5 separate regions of the Homo sapiens genome follow, and all the other regions are linked to region 2. The links are contacts of gene promoters, found by promoter capture Hi-C in blood cells and fetal thymus (Javierre and others, 2016). All regions are on one chromosome and are shown on one strand. The core of a region is centred on a gene start or on the middle of the fragment in contact, and the rest is flanking DNA. Distances in the headings are between cores, read along the strand shown. Region 1 overlaps JPX (JPX transcript, XIST activator). Region 2 holds the start of ERCC6L (ERCC excision repair 6 like, spindle assembly checkpoint helicase). Region 3 overlaps JPX (JPX transcript, XIST activator). Region 4 overlaps FTX (FTX transcript, XIST regulator). Region 5 holds the start of CHIC1 (cysteine rich hydrophobic domain 1).

What was found. Contacts are between HindIII fragments. The CHiCAGO score rates a contact against its expected background, and 5 or more counts as called.
Region 1: a fragment that was not itself captured here is called in contact with the fragment with the promoter of ERCC6L in region 2 in 1 of 17 cell types (naive B cells); the score reaches 6.1 in naive B cells.
Region 3: a fragment that was not itself captured here is called in contact with the fragment with the promoter of ERCC6L in region 2 in 2 of 17 cell types (naive CD8 T cells and total B cells); the score reaches 6.3 in naive CD8 T cells.
Region 4: a contact is called between a fragment that was not itself captured here and the fragment with the promoter of ERCC6L in region 2, in 3 of 17 cell types (total CD4 T cells, fetal thymus and non-activated CD4 T cells). The highest score is 17.2, in total CD4 T cells.
Region 5: a contact is called between the fragment with the promoter of CHIC1 here and the fragment with the promoter of ERCC6L in region 2, in 5 of 17 cell types (activated CD4 T cells, total B cells, total CD8 T cells and 2 more). The highest score is 7.6, in activated CD4 T cells.

The regions. Positions count from the first base shown.
Region 1 is chrX:73,990,979-73,993,678 of GRCh38, forward strand. The region is part of intron 2 of JPX (JPX transcript, XIST activator); the gene reads left to right. Among named protein-coding and RNA genes, the nearest start is that of JPX, 48 kb to the left of the region's middle. The HindIII fragment of the contact is 171 bases long and covers 1,318-1,488 here.
Region 2 is chrX:72,237,636-72,240,335 of GRCh38, forward strand. It overlaps ERCC6L (ERCC excision repair 6 like, spindle assembly checkpoint helicase), which reads right to left and starts at 1,392. Exons shown (of 2, transcript NM_017669.4): 1 at 1,209-1,392. The coding sequence starts at 1,276. It also overlaps a transcript of PIN4 not described here. RefSeq lists an enhancer at 1,174-1,323. The HindIII fragment of the contact is 5,695 bases long and covers 1-2,700 here.
Region 3 is chrX:74,020,060-74,022,759 of GRCh38, forward strand. All of the region lies in intron 3 of JPX (JPX transcript, XIST activator), which reads left to right. Among named protein-coding and RNA genes, the nearest start is that of JPX, 77 kb to the left of the region's middle. The HindIII fragment of the contact is 3,239 bases long and covers 1-2,700 here.
Region 4 is chrX:74,129,824-74,132,523 of GRCh38, forward strand. The region is part of intron 5 of FTX (FTX transcript, XIST regulator); the gene reads right to left. It also overlaps the pseudogene DDX3P1. Among named protein-coding and RNA genes, the nearest start is that of MIR421, 87 kb to the right of the region's middle. The HindIII fragment of the contact is 973 bases long and covers 895-1,867 here.
Region 5 is chrX:73,561,808-73,564,507 of GRCh38, forward strand. It overlaps CHIC1 (cysteine rich hydrophobic domain 1), which reads left to right and starts at 1,390. Exons shown (of 6, transcript NM_001039840.4): 1 at 1,390-1,773. The coding sequence starts at 1,478. It also overlaps the pseudogene MAP2K4P1. RefSeq lists a silencer at 1,310-1,369. The HindIII fragment of the contact is 6,151 bases long and covers 1-2,484 here.

The DNA.
Region 1 (2,700 bases), core at 153-2,652, 1.8 Mb after region 2:
GGTATTACAGGTGCATGCTACCACGCCTGGCTAATTTTTGTATTTTTAGTAGAGACAGGGTTTCACCATGTTGGCCAGGCTGGTCTCAAACTCCAGACCTCAGGTGATCCTCCCACTTCAGCCTCCCAAAGTGCTGGGATTACAGATGTGAGCCACCATGCCCAGCTGGTAAATTTAAAATGATTGAAATTTATATATGTTCTGTCACCACAATGGAAGTAAAATTAAAATAGAAATTATTAAAATATCTAGGAATGATCCAAATATTTGGAAATTAGACAACACAAGTTTAAATGATCATGAGTCAAAGGGAAATCACAATTAGAAGACATTTTTAATCGAATGGTAATGATAATATAATGTCAAAATTCATGGAATGTAGCTAAAGCAGTGCTTGGAGGGCAAATTATAGTTTAAATGCTTTTATTATAAAGGAAGAAAAGTCTAAATGTCAGTAACCAAAGTTTCTACCTTAGGAAGCTAGAACAAGAACAGCAAAGTAAACCTGGAGTAAGTACAAGTAAGGAAACAATAGAGTAGGAATCAATGATGTGGAAAACAGATAATAGAGAAACTTTAAAAAGCCAAAATCTGGTTCTTTGGTAAGATCAACAACAGTAATAAACCCTTATCTTCAGTGAACAAGAAATTGACAATGCGACATGTTGTAATAGTAAAGGAATAAAGTACATAGTGTGGAACACAGAGGCTGATCTGAATTTGGTTTTCAAAGGTGGTTTCAGAGAGGTGGTAAAATTTGTGTTTGGCTTTCAAGAATTAGTGTAAGTTTTTCCTGATACAGATTGGGAAAAAGAATATTCTGAGAGGAAATAAGAGCAAAATAATTTTATTTTTCAGGCTTTTGGCATATTTAGAACCGTATTTTTATTTTTTTGAGACAGAGTCTTGCTGGAGTCCATCGGTGCAATCTCGGCTCACTGTAACCTCTGCCTACTGGTTCAAGCAGTTCTGGTGCCTGAGCCTCCCAAGTAGCTGGGATTACAGGCATGTGCCACCACTAGCCCCAGCTAATTTTTAAATTTTTAGTAGAGATGGATTTCTTCATGTTGGCCAGGCTGGTCTCGAACTCCAAGTCTCAAGTGATCCACACGCCTTGGCCCCCCAAAGTGCTAGGATTACTGGCGCGACCCCACAGCACCTGGCCTAGAATGGTATATTGACTTTATCTGTGGCATATGGGTTATGTTAGGTGGAGAGCAGTAGGTGATGCAATAGGAAAAGCAGTTTGAGTCTAGAGTGTACAGAACCTAGAGTACCTTCCTTGATAACTTGGACTTTATTCTGTGTAAAATAGCAAGCTTAGCGTCTAAAGTTTTTAAAGGAGTTTTTTAAATGAAATATTTCAAACAGAAAATACATAGAATGACATACTGAACACTTATTACCGCTACCCTGCTTTAACAAATCTTATACCTTACTATATTTGTTTCAGATTTTAAGAAATTAATACATCATAGATACAATTGAAGCTTTGTACCTTTCCATCTCATACCACCATGAAGTTCTATTCTGAAGTCATATATCCTTACCATGCATTTTTAAAATACTTTTACTGTATAGCTATATACTAATAAAAAGGTGGCATTCTCCATGTTATTAAAGTTTCTTAAAAATGCTATCTATATTTTACTTATTCTGCAACTTGTTTTTCTCACTTATTATTATTTTTGACTTATGGGATATTCCGGAAGTTTGGACTGGTGTAACCACAGTAGTTATTTACGGCCAGTGTCCTTTCTTCTTTCTTTTTTGAGTTAACCAGGATACATTTATTAAATATATCCAGGATAAATATTCCCAAAAACAAATATTTGGTAAATATGGCAAACTTATTCTTTGGCAAATTAGCTTTTAGCATGTTGGACTGCTTTCCATCCCTATTAGGAGTATTATAAGGATTAAATGAAGTATTACCAACAAAAAGGTACTTAGCAAAATTCTCAGTAAACATTGGTTATAATCCCTCCAACATTCAGACTTAAGTTCTGCCTATTCTCTTTCCTCAGTATTCTTTATTCCTGTCCATATAACCATTGTCCTTTTGTAGGCCTTCACTACCTTAATGTGGACTATAGCAATAGTCACTTGATTGGTCTCTTGGCTTGTTCCCCTCCAATCTTGTTCTCTACACTACTGCAAGGGTGATCTGTCTACCACATAGATTTTGAATTATCATCTACAGTAGTAAAACAGTTTTCATGGCATACAAGCTTCAATAATTTAGTCTAGATATTCCGCTTGATCTCTTTTCACCTCTTTTCCATTTATCTTCTAGCACCACTGCAGTGCTTGTAGTTCCTTAAATATGCTATTCTTTTTGAAAAAGCAGCAAATCTCTGTGCAGTTGCCTTTCTAACTGGAATATCTTCCCCCTTCTTGTGTTCTCACAAAATTCTTATTCATCTTTCAAGTTCTAGCTCAAATGCCACTTCCTTGTAAAGGTTTTCCTGATTTCCTTAAGCAGATTTGGGTTACGTTTCTAGGGTTCTGCTGCTCTTTGTACATGCTTCTATTATAATGCTTATATATATTATTGTAGTTGTTTTTTAATTTTGTCTGTCATTCTAATAGACTGTAATCTCCTTGCAGGAGGAGATCTGTCTTTTCATCATTTATATAATAATGACTATTGTACCTAGAATATAAGTCATTGACATTTGTTGAATTAAAAAAATTCAG
Region 2 (2,700 bases), core at 142-2,641:
CGCCTGTGGTCCCAGCTACTCCGGAAACAGGTGGGAGGATCGCATGAGCCCCGGGGGATGGAAGTTGCAGTGAGCTGAGTTAGAGATCGCGCCACTGCACTCCAGCCTGGGTGACAGAGCCAGACCCTGTCTCTAAAAATATATATAAAACAACAATAGTAAAATAATAAATTGGCTGGACATGGTGGCACCCACCTTAAGTCCCAGCTACTAGGGAGGCTGGGGCAGGAGGACTGCTTGAGCCCAGGAGTTCGAGGCTGCAGTGAACTATGATCAGGCCACTGAATTCCAGTCTGGGCGACACAGCAAGACCCTGTCTCAAAAAAAATTAAAGCAGTAAAATTCACAGAGACAGAATAATGGTTGCTAGGGGCTGAAGGGAGGGGGAAATGGGGAGTTTGTTTAATGGGAGTAGTTTCAGTTTTGCCACATGAGAAAAGTTCTGGAGATGACGGACGGCTGCACAACAATATGAATGTAGTCAACACTACTGAACTGTACATTTAAAAATGGTTAGGATGATAAACTTTATTTTTCATAAAACCCAGTTTCTGCACAAAAAGATAAAATTTATGTTATGTGTACTTTACCACAATTTAAGAAAAAATTTAAATTCTCATCCCAACATTACCACGCCCCCCACCCTTAGCCAACTGGTGAATGTTTACTCATTTTTCAACGCCTAGCTCAAATGTCTCCTCTTGCCACGCCATCCCTTAGCTGACCACCCTTGTAGTTGGCCATTCCCTCTTTTATGCCAACACTGTGCCCTGCACGTACATTATACCTCTTACAGCACTTATCAAACCTAGTAATTATTGCTTTACAGATCCGTTTCCACTACTAGATTACAAACAATTTGGGGGCGGGGACCTTGTTTTACTCATCTCTGTATCCCCTAGACTTAGGGCTTGATAAGCTGAAAAGAATCAAGAAGGGCTTGATTAATTAAGGCTCCTCTGGCTTTTAAGGAGACCATACTGGAGGGTCATTTGCCCAAAAGAAGAGGCATCGGGGTCTCCTCAGGTTTTAGAAATCTGGTCAAACATCCAGAGCTGACTCCCACACCCTACTGCGAGAAGAGCGCGAGCGCGCGTCTCAAAAGGCTCCGCCTCAACAGTTCGGGTCCCCAGGAGGATCCGGGGGCCACCCCACCTCCACCCTGGGCCAGGTCGGTTAGCTAGACCCGCCCAGCGGTCCAGACATACCTTAGGTAATGAGCAGCCTGCTCTGGGCTCAAGGCCTCGGCTTCCGGAAACCTTCGGGATGCCTCCATGACCCTCGGATTGGGTTCCAGTTACCCCGGCGGGAGTTTGGAGCTTGGAGCTTGGAGCTTGGAGCTTGGAGCTTAGAGTTTGGAGCTTGAATTTCGCTCACTCCCGCCCCGCGCATGCTCTGTGCGCCGTGGAGAGGGACACAGCCAACCGACGGCCTCGCGGCCGGCCAATCCGCGACCACGCGCTGCGACGCCTCCGCCTGAGCCCCGCCCATGACGGTGGGCGCCTGCGCCTACGCGCGCCGGGAAGCAGAAGGTGATCTCTGCCTTCGAGACACGGAGTGTGCTGCCTCAGTCTGTGATCCCTCGCGTTTCAATCCAATTCAAACCATGCTGCAGCCAATTCGTTCGCGCGTGCGTGTGCCATCATTGTGAGTGGAGGAGACTGCCCGATATGATCCCAGTCATTGCGGCGACCCCTGGAGATCTCCAACGCCTGCGTCCCCCAACCATACCCTGCCCCGCATCCACAGATATCTTCCCTTCCTTGATCGCCAGTACCTGGCACTGACCGTGCTTTGAATTCAAACACCCTGGGAGGCATAGTCCCTGTGATTTAAACTAACATTGAAGAAGCGACCAGACGCGGTGGTTCACGCCTGTAATCCCAGCACTTTGGGAGACCGGGGCGGGCGGATCACGTGAGGTCAGGAGTTCGAGACCAACCTGGCTAAAATGGTGACACCCCGTCTCTACTAAAAATACAAAAAATTAGCCGGGCGTGGTGGCGGGCGCCCGCAGTCCCAGCTACTCGGGTGGCTGAGGCACGAGAATCGCTTGGACCCAGGAGGTGGAGGTTGCAGTGAGCCGGGATTGCACCACTGCACTCCAGCCTGGGTGGCAAAGCGAGACTCCATCTCAAAAAAAAAAAAAAAAAAAAAAAAGGCTGGGTGCAGTGCCTCACGCCTGTTATCCTAGCCTTTTGGGAGGCTAAGGTGGGAGGATCACTTGCACTTAGGAGTTCGAGACCAGCCTGGGCAACATGGTGAGACTCCCGTCTCTTTAAAAAAAATTTTTTTCTTCTCCACAGGGCGTTATGCTGTATTTATTTTCTTAAAAAGAGAGAGAGAAAGAGAGAAGGGTCTTCAAGAATCTCAAACCCTGGAGGTGGAGGCTGCAGTGAGCCAAGATCATGCCACTGCACTCCAGCCTGGGTGACAGAGAAAGACTCCATCTCAAAAAAAAAAAAAAAATTAAAGTTCTTATTTAAGAAATAAGTAACTAGGTTCACATACTTGGTATAATAAAAGGAAGACAAAAATAATTTAAAAAAAAAGAAGTAGTGCTGTGGTCATCATTTCTTCAGAAGCACCAACTAAGATACAGTCATTTTCAAATGCAGAGCCTAAAAAGAAGGCAGAGCCTAGAGCTTAAGGAAATGTGATTGAGTTTAAGTGGCTTGCTTGGGTGACACTAAATAGGAG
Region 3 (2,700 bases), core at 195-2,694, 1.8 Mb after region 2:
AAACCAAATGCACAATTAACCAGCAACCAGCTAATAGTAATACAGAATCAAATATAAACATATCAGTGTTACGTTTGAAATTAAATAGACTACTGTCCTAATAAATGATAAAAAGAGGCAAGTTGGATAAAAAAGACCGAACTGTATGCTGTCTTCCTGAAACCCATTTCAGAAGTAATGGCACCCATTGACTCAAGGTAAAGGGATGGAGAAAATTCTACCAAGCAAACAGAAAAAAGGAGGAGGGACAGATTGCTATTCTAACTTCATAGAAAATAGACTTTAAAACAGCAATTGTCAATAAGGACAGAGAAAGATATAATCATGAAGAGTTCAACTCAACAAGAGCTAACTATATATGCACTGAACACAGGATCATGCGCGTTCATAAAAGAAGTTCCTACAGACCTATGAAGAGACTTAGATAAGCAGACAATAAGAGTGGGAAACTTCACTACCCCATTGACACTATTAGATCACTGAGGCTGAAAGCTAAGAGATATTTTAGTCCTGTACTTGACACTTGACCAAATGGACCTATCAGACATCCATATTAATGTCCACCCAAAACCACCAAGTACACATTCTTCTCATCTGCACATGGCACATACTCTATAGTTGACTACACAGTGGGCCATAAAACAATCCTCACCAAATTCAAATAACAGCAAAATCATACTAAACAGATCTTTGGACCAGAGCACAATAAAAATAGAAATCAACACGAAGATTACTCAACACTATACAATTACATGGAAATTAAGCAACTTGATCCTTAATTATGTTGGCATAAATAATGAAGTTAAAGCAGAAATGGACAAGTTCAATATCTCAATTTAACAAGCTAATATAACAAACAGAGGAATTAGAAAACGAGTACACTAATTCCAAAGCTAGCAGCAGACAAGAAATAACTAACCAGTTTTGAAATTGAATCAGTAATAAAAACCCTACCAACCCTACCTGGACCTGATGGATTTATGGCTGAATACAACCAGATATGTAAGAAAGAGCTGGTGAAATTCCTAGTTAAGCTATTCCAAAATATCAAGGAGGAAGGACTCCTCCCTTAATCATTTTATGAAGCCAGCATGATCCTGATACCAAAACTTGGCAGAGACACAACACAAACTTGAGACAAATATCCTTGATGAACTTAAAAGGAAAAATTCTCAAGAAAATACCAGCAAACCTAATCCACTTGCATATCAGAAAGCAAATTCCCCATGATTAAGGAGGCTATATTTGTGTGATGCAAGGTTGGTACAACATACAGAACTTACGAAAAAAATGTGATTTATCACATAAGCAGAGCTAAAACCATGTTCATCTCTATAGATGCAGAAACTATTTATTTAACATTACTTCATGTTATGAACCCTCAACAAATTAGGCATTGAAGAAACATATCTCAAAATAATGACCCATCTGTTACAAACTCACAGCCAACCTCATAATCAACTGGCAAAAGTTGGAAGCATTCCTTTTATGACCAGAGCAAGTCAAGGATGCTCAGTGTCACCACACCTATTCAACATACTACTGGAAGTTCTAGCTAGAGCAATCAGTTAATAGAAAAGGCATCCAAATAGGAAAAGAAGTAAAACTATCTCTGCAGACAACATGATTTTATACATAGAAAACCTCAAAGCCCCAAAGCTCCTAGATTAGATACAAAACTTCAACAAAGTTTCAGTATAAAAAGTCAGTCTGTAACTTAGCATTTCTATACAGCACCAACATCAAAGCTCAGAATTGAATCAGGAAGGCAAACCCATTCACAATAGCCACAAAAAGCATAAATCACCCAGGAACACATTTAACCAGGAAGGTGAAAGATCACTATAAGGAGAATTACAAAACACTACTGAAGGAAATCATAGATGACACAAATAGGAAGAAATGACATTGTTAAAATGGCCATAATCCCCAAAGCAATTTATACATTAATTGCTATTCAAACTACCAATGACATTCTTTGCAGAATTAATACAACCTTTAAAAATTCATATGGAGTGAAAAAGTCCTAATAGCCAAGGCAATTCTAGACAAAAAACAAACTTGGAAGCATAACATTACCTGAATTTGAAAGTATTCTACAAGATTACAGTAACCATAACAGCATGGTACCGGTATAAAAGTAGACATGGAGGCCAATGGAGCAGAATATAGAACACAAAGCTGTACACCAACAGTCATCTGCTTCTCAACAAAGTTGACAAAACAAGCAATGAAGACAGGACTTCCTGTTCAATAAATGGTGCTGGCATAACTGACTACGTATATATTCAAGGTTGACACTGGACCGCTTCCTTACATTACATATAATGACTCAATATAGATTAAGGGCTTAAATGTAAAATATAATACCATAAAAATGCTAAAATATAACTTAGGAAATACCATGCTGAACATAGGTTCTGAAAAATATTTATGATGAAGACTCCAAATGCAATTACAGCAAAAACAAAAATTGACAAATAGAACCTAGTTAAACTATAGAGATTCTGCACAGCAAGAGAATCTATCAATGGTGAACACAATGTACAGAATGGGAGAAATATCTGCAAATTATGCATCTGACAAAGTTCTAATATCCAGAATTTATAAGCTACTTAAATTCATGGGGAGAAAACCACATTGAAAATATGAAAAAGTACATAGACATTTTTTCAAAGGAAGACATGCATACAGCTAGGA
Region 4 (2,700 bases), core at 131-2,630, 1.9 Mb after region 2:
GTGAATGATCAAGACAGGTGTCCCCACGGTGATCAGACACCAAGGGAAGACTGTCTTCCCAAGTCCGTGACCAACATCGGAGTTTTTGAATGCACAGATAAAGTGTGTCTCCTTTTTGTCTCTACCAGGAAGGGAGAGAAACTGAAATTGAAAGGAGAGAGATTGAAGGGAGGCAATAGAGGTTAGGTAGAGAGCAAAAACACTGCTTACCCGAGTGCAAATAACTGCTTACCGATTTGAAATTGGTGAAATGGTCCTTGGGCTGGCTGGTCTGATGACCTGAGGTCGTAGGTGGATCTCCTCACAGAGGTAGCATGAGGACAGGGGACCAGTCTCCTGAAGGAGTTCCCCTGTCCCGGGTCTTCAGCACCAAATACTATGTGTGTCCGTATAAGAGACCACCTGAGCAGGCTTAGTGTAAGCAACAAGGCTGTTTATTCACTTGGGTGCAAGTGGGCTGAATCCAAGAAAGGAGTCAGCAAAGGGTGGTGGGATTATCATTTATTCTTATAGGTTTGGGATAGGCAGTGGAGTCAGAAGCAATTTTTTGCAGGCAGGGGATGGATGTTACAAATACATTAACAAGGGCGGGGAGGGTGTATTGTCACAAGGGCGGGGAATGTTACAAACTACCTTCACAAGGATGGGGAATATCACAAAGTACATTATCACAAGGGCGGGGGAATGTCACGATGGCTTGACCATGGTGCGGCCAGCTCAGAGGACCTTACAGAGCTTACTTACTATACTCATCCTACTCCACTGCAAAACATGCCATTCCTATTATTAGGGGAAAAAAAGAGACTTAATGTCTTGTGCCCAAGCAGGGTCTGGGAAAACTGCAGCATTTCTTTTACCCGTACTGAGTCAGATATATATAGATGGTCCAGGAAAAGCTTTGAAGGCTGTGAAGGAAAATGGAAGGTATGGATGCCATGAACAATACTCAATCTCCTGGGTTTTAGCCCCAACAAGAGAATTGGCTGTACAGATATGAGGAAGTCAGAAAATTTTCATACCAGCCTAGAGTTCATCCTTGTGTAGTTTATGGTGATGCTGATATTGGTCAGCAAATTCAGGTCTTAGAACATGGATGCCACTTGTTAGTAGCCACGCCAGGAGGTCTAGTGGATTTGATGGAAAGAGGAAAGATTGGATTAGACTTCTGCAAATACTTAGTGTTGGATGAAGCTGATAGGATGCTGGATATGGGATTTGGACCTCAGATACATCTTATACTTGAACAAGATACTATGCCACTGAAGGGCATTCATCACATCATGATGTTTAGTGCTACTTTTCCTAACGAAATACAGATGCTTGCTCGTGACTTTTTGGATGAATATATCTTTTTGGCTGTAGGAAGAGTAGGCTCTACCTCTGAGACTATCACACAGGAAGTAGTTTGGGTGGAAGAGCCAGATAAACGGTCATTTCTGCTTGATCTCTTAAATGCACCAGGGAAGGATTCACTGACTTTAGTGTTTGTGGAGACCAAAAAGGGAGAAGATTCTCTGGAGAATTTCTTATACCATGAAGTATATCCTTGTACTAGTATTCATGGAGACCAATCACAGAGAGATCGAGAAGGAGGCCCTTCATCAGTTTTGCTTGGGGAAAATCCCAATTCTAGTGGCTACAGCTGTGGCAGCATGAAGACTAGACATTTCAAATGTGAAACATGCTTCAATTTTGATTTGCCAAGTGATATTGAAGAATATGTGCCTTGTATTGGCTGTACAGGATGTGTGGGAATCCAGGGTCTTGCCACCTCATTCTTTAATTAAAGAAATATGAATATTACAAAGGATTTGTTGGATATTCTTATAGAAGCTAAACAAGAAGTGCCTGCTTGGTTGGAAAATAAAGCTTATAAACACCACTACAAGGGTGGTATTCATGCATGATCTAAAAGATTCAGTGGAGGATTTGGTGCCAGAGACTATTGACAAAGTAGTGGTTCCAGCAGTTCTGGCTTCAGTAGTAGTCATACAAGCAGCAGCTGCAGTGGTGGAGGTGGTCATGGCAGCAGCAGCAGATGTGGTGGAGGTAGCTATGGAGGCTTCTACAACAGTGATGGATGTGGAGGAAATTATAATTCTTGTTATAAGAGTTATTAAGAGCTGGGCGCGGTGGCTCACACCTGTAATCCCAGCACTTTGGGAGGCTGAGGCAGGCGGATCACGAGGTCAGGAGTTCGAGACCAGTCTGGCCAACATAGTGAAACCCCATCTCTACTAAAAATACACAAAAAATTAGCCAGGCGTGGTGTTGTGCACCTGTAATCCCAGCTATTTGGGAGGCTGAGGCAGGAGAATCACGTGAACCCAGGAGGCGGAGGTTGCAGTGAGCCGAGATCGTGCCACTGCACTCCAGCCTGGGTGACAGAACAAGACTCTGTCTCAAAAAAAAAAAAAAAAAAAAAAAAAGAAAGAGTTATTAAGAAATTATTTTAAGCAGATAAGAAAAGGGGTCCTTGGGAAGTTCTTTTTTTTCTTTTAGAGCAACTCCAGAAACATTTCTTGTCTAGCAGGAAAGCTAGGCCAGCAAGCTTTGATATGCAAATACCGGCCATTAGAAACTGGGCCCACCCAAACATGGCAATTCCTGCAGTCTTATTCTTGCCCTGGCCTCCACATGTGCCTGGCAACACGGCCACCCCCACATATCCACACATGTGTAAAATATCATGGTGCCCTG
Region 5 (2,700 bases), core at 140-2,639, 1.3 Mb after region 2:
TGTTTATACTGATAATGTCGTGCTCATCCTAAATTAAAGTTTGACTATGTCTGTTTCCCCAGAGACACACCATCTGATTGGGATGCAGCCGTAGAGTAGCAGAAAGAGCAGTGAAGCTGGTATTAGAATGCCTGGATTACAGTGTTTGTTCTGTTACTTAGCAGCTGTGTGACTTTACTGTCTTAATGATATGGATTTTTGTGCTGCTGCCAAGTATGAAACAGTTTGGCACACTATTTAGATACGCAAAATATGTGATCCCCACAACATTTTAGTGAGTGTAAAGAAGATAGGATAGACCATTTAAAATGGAAAATTTTGAACAAAAGGTCACCATAGACTTGAATAAATTACTTAAACTTCTGAGACCCACTTTTGTCATGTAATAAAATAGATATAATGATACTTACCTCTCAGGATTAAGGGTTAACTGAAATATTGTATGTGAGGGTCTAGCTCAGTGTCTGGAAAATGGATGATGTTAATTAAGGTTTCCTTAGGTTGGAATGCTCCTTTCACCCCCTCCATCCGCCCCCTCCCCCAAAAAACACTCCAAAATTCAAACATGCATATTCTGATTCATCTTTTAAGGAAGAGCCCAAGAGGCACCATTCTACAAAATCTTTCCAAACAACTTCAGGCAGTACAGCCCTTTGGTTAAGAGTACTGGGCTTCTGGAATCAGAAGAGACCACCAAATTTAAAACCAGGTCTCCCATTTAGTAGCTCCCTGACACTGGACAAATTACTTATTTTCTCTGCACCTAGATTTCCCATCTGTAATATAAAATCATCATGATACATACCTCATAGGGTTGCAGAGGATTAAATGAGATATACATACAGAGCACTTAGCACAGTCCCTGAGTTAATAAGTCCTCCGTTAAGTATTACATAGGAGAAGTAGTAAAAAGTTTCCTCTTAAGTAAAATGCTAATAAAAGTGCTTACCCTGCCTCCCAAGATTGTGGCAAAGTTATGACGCAAGGCTTTTAAACTGTAATGCTGAACAAACGTAAGGGATTGGTATATACCTTGAGATATTTTGGACAAAGTTCTAACCTTACTTTTATACAATATGCTTTCTCTCACCCGCCTGCAGTTGGGTTAATAATGCCCAGCATTAATTAATAAGCAATAAAATCAGAAGATACCCCGAATACAAGTAGCTGACGCTCAGAGAGCAGTATTAAGGCGAGCACCCGCAGACCGGACCTGGATAACTCCTTGGAGTTCACCTCTAGCGGCCCCCTCCCCTTGGAGCTGCGCAAGCGTACACTGACTTTGCTCCTCTCTAGTGCCCCCGCCTCCAGCAGCCGCCCCCCCACCCCCCCGTCTGCCCAACACGCAGGCGCGTCTCCTCAAATCCTGTCCCTACACCCCTCCTCTTTCTCTTCATTTCGTTCCCCCTCCTCTTGCAGCACCTCGGCAGGTTCAAACTCTTCTCCGGGAGCGTGGCGGCGATCGCGAGGTCACGTGATGAGCATCCTGCTGCCCAACATGGCGGAGTTCGACACCATCTCGGAACTGGAGGAGGAGGAGGAAGAAGAAGCGGCAACGTCGTCGTCGTCGCCGTCGTCGTCGTCGTCGGTATCTGGGCCCGACGATGACGAGGAGGATGAGGAGGAAGAGGAGGAAGAGGAGGAGGAGGAAGAAGAGGAGGAGGAGGAAGAGGAGGAGGAAGCGCCGCCCCCGCCTCGGGTAGTGAGCGAGGAGCATCTGCGGAGATATGCTCCCGACCCTGTATTAGTGCGGGGTGCCGGCCACATCACTGTGTAAGCGAGAGGGGGTCTTGGGACTTGAAATGCCTGAGATTTGGCAACAGAGGAATGAGAAGTGATCGAGGGGCCTGTGGAGTGGGGGAGGGTTGACTGATTGACTGAGGCGTACACTTAGGAAAGGACACCTGGTCTAAATGGGGAAACCATGGGTGGATACGTGTGAAGGAAGTGAGGAGAATGTAAATATGATGCACCAATGCCAGGTAAAGAGTGAGTATAGGAGAGGGAAGTTAGGGGTTTGGGAGCCAGAGCGATTGGAGTAGGGGTGAGTCTCCTTTCTTGTATGTATGCTGGCAAGTGAACAGTCTCTAAACTGCAGGATGTACCAGAGGGTTTTTTGCTGACAAGATTGATACTTTGTGGGAAACAGCAATTGCTGTGACATGTGACAAGAACTAGGCTTGCATTCTTCAAAACAGAAACATGATATATTTTGTGAATAATAATAGAATGTTCATTCACCCACGTATTCATCCATCCATTCTTCCTATCGAATCCTTCCTTATATATCACTCGATTAGAGGTTCAGGATGAGAGGCAGCTATGGAAAGTAGAAAAAGAAATGGATTGAGTCAGGGCTCTTAGACGCTGGTCCCGGTTTTGCTTCTTACTGGCCCTGTGACCTTGGTCAGGTTGCTTTTTCTCATTTCTGCGCCTTGATTTCTTCATCTCTAAAATGAAGGGTTTGGAGTAGATGGTTTCTAAAGCTTTTCAGTTCTGAGATAATTTACCTCCAAGGGATTTTGTATGCCCAAGTATGAAATATACAGGCATTAAATATATATGGAAATTAATACTTTGGGAGCTGAGCATAATTTCTTTAAAATTTATCCAGGGTGGTTTTTTAAAAAATTGAAATCTTGAGGAAAAATTGAATATTTCAGAAAATAAAATGGGGAGGGACTTCATAACAGCTACAAG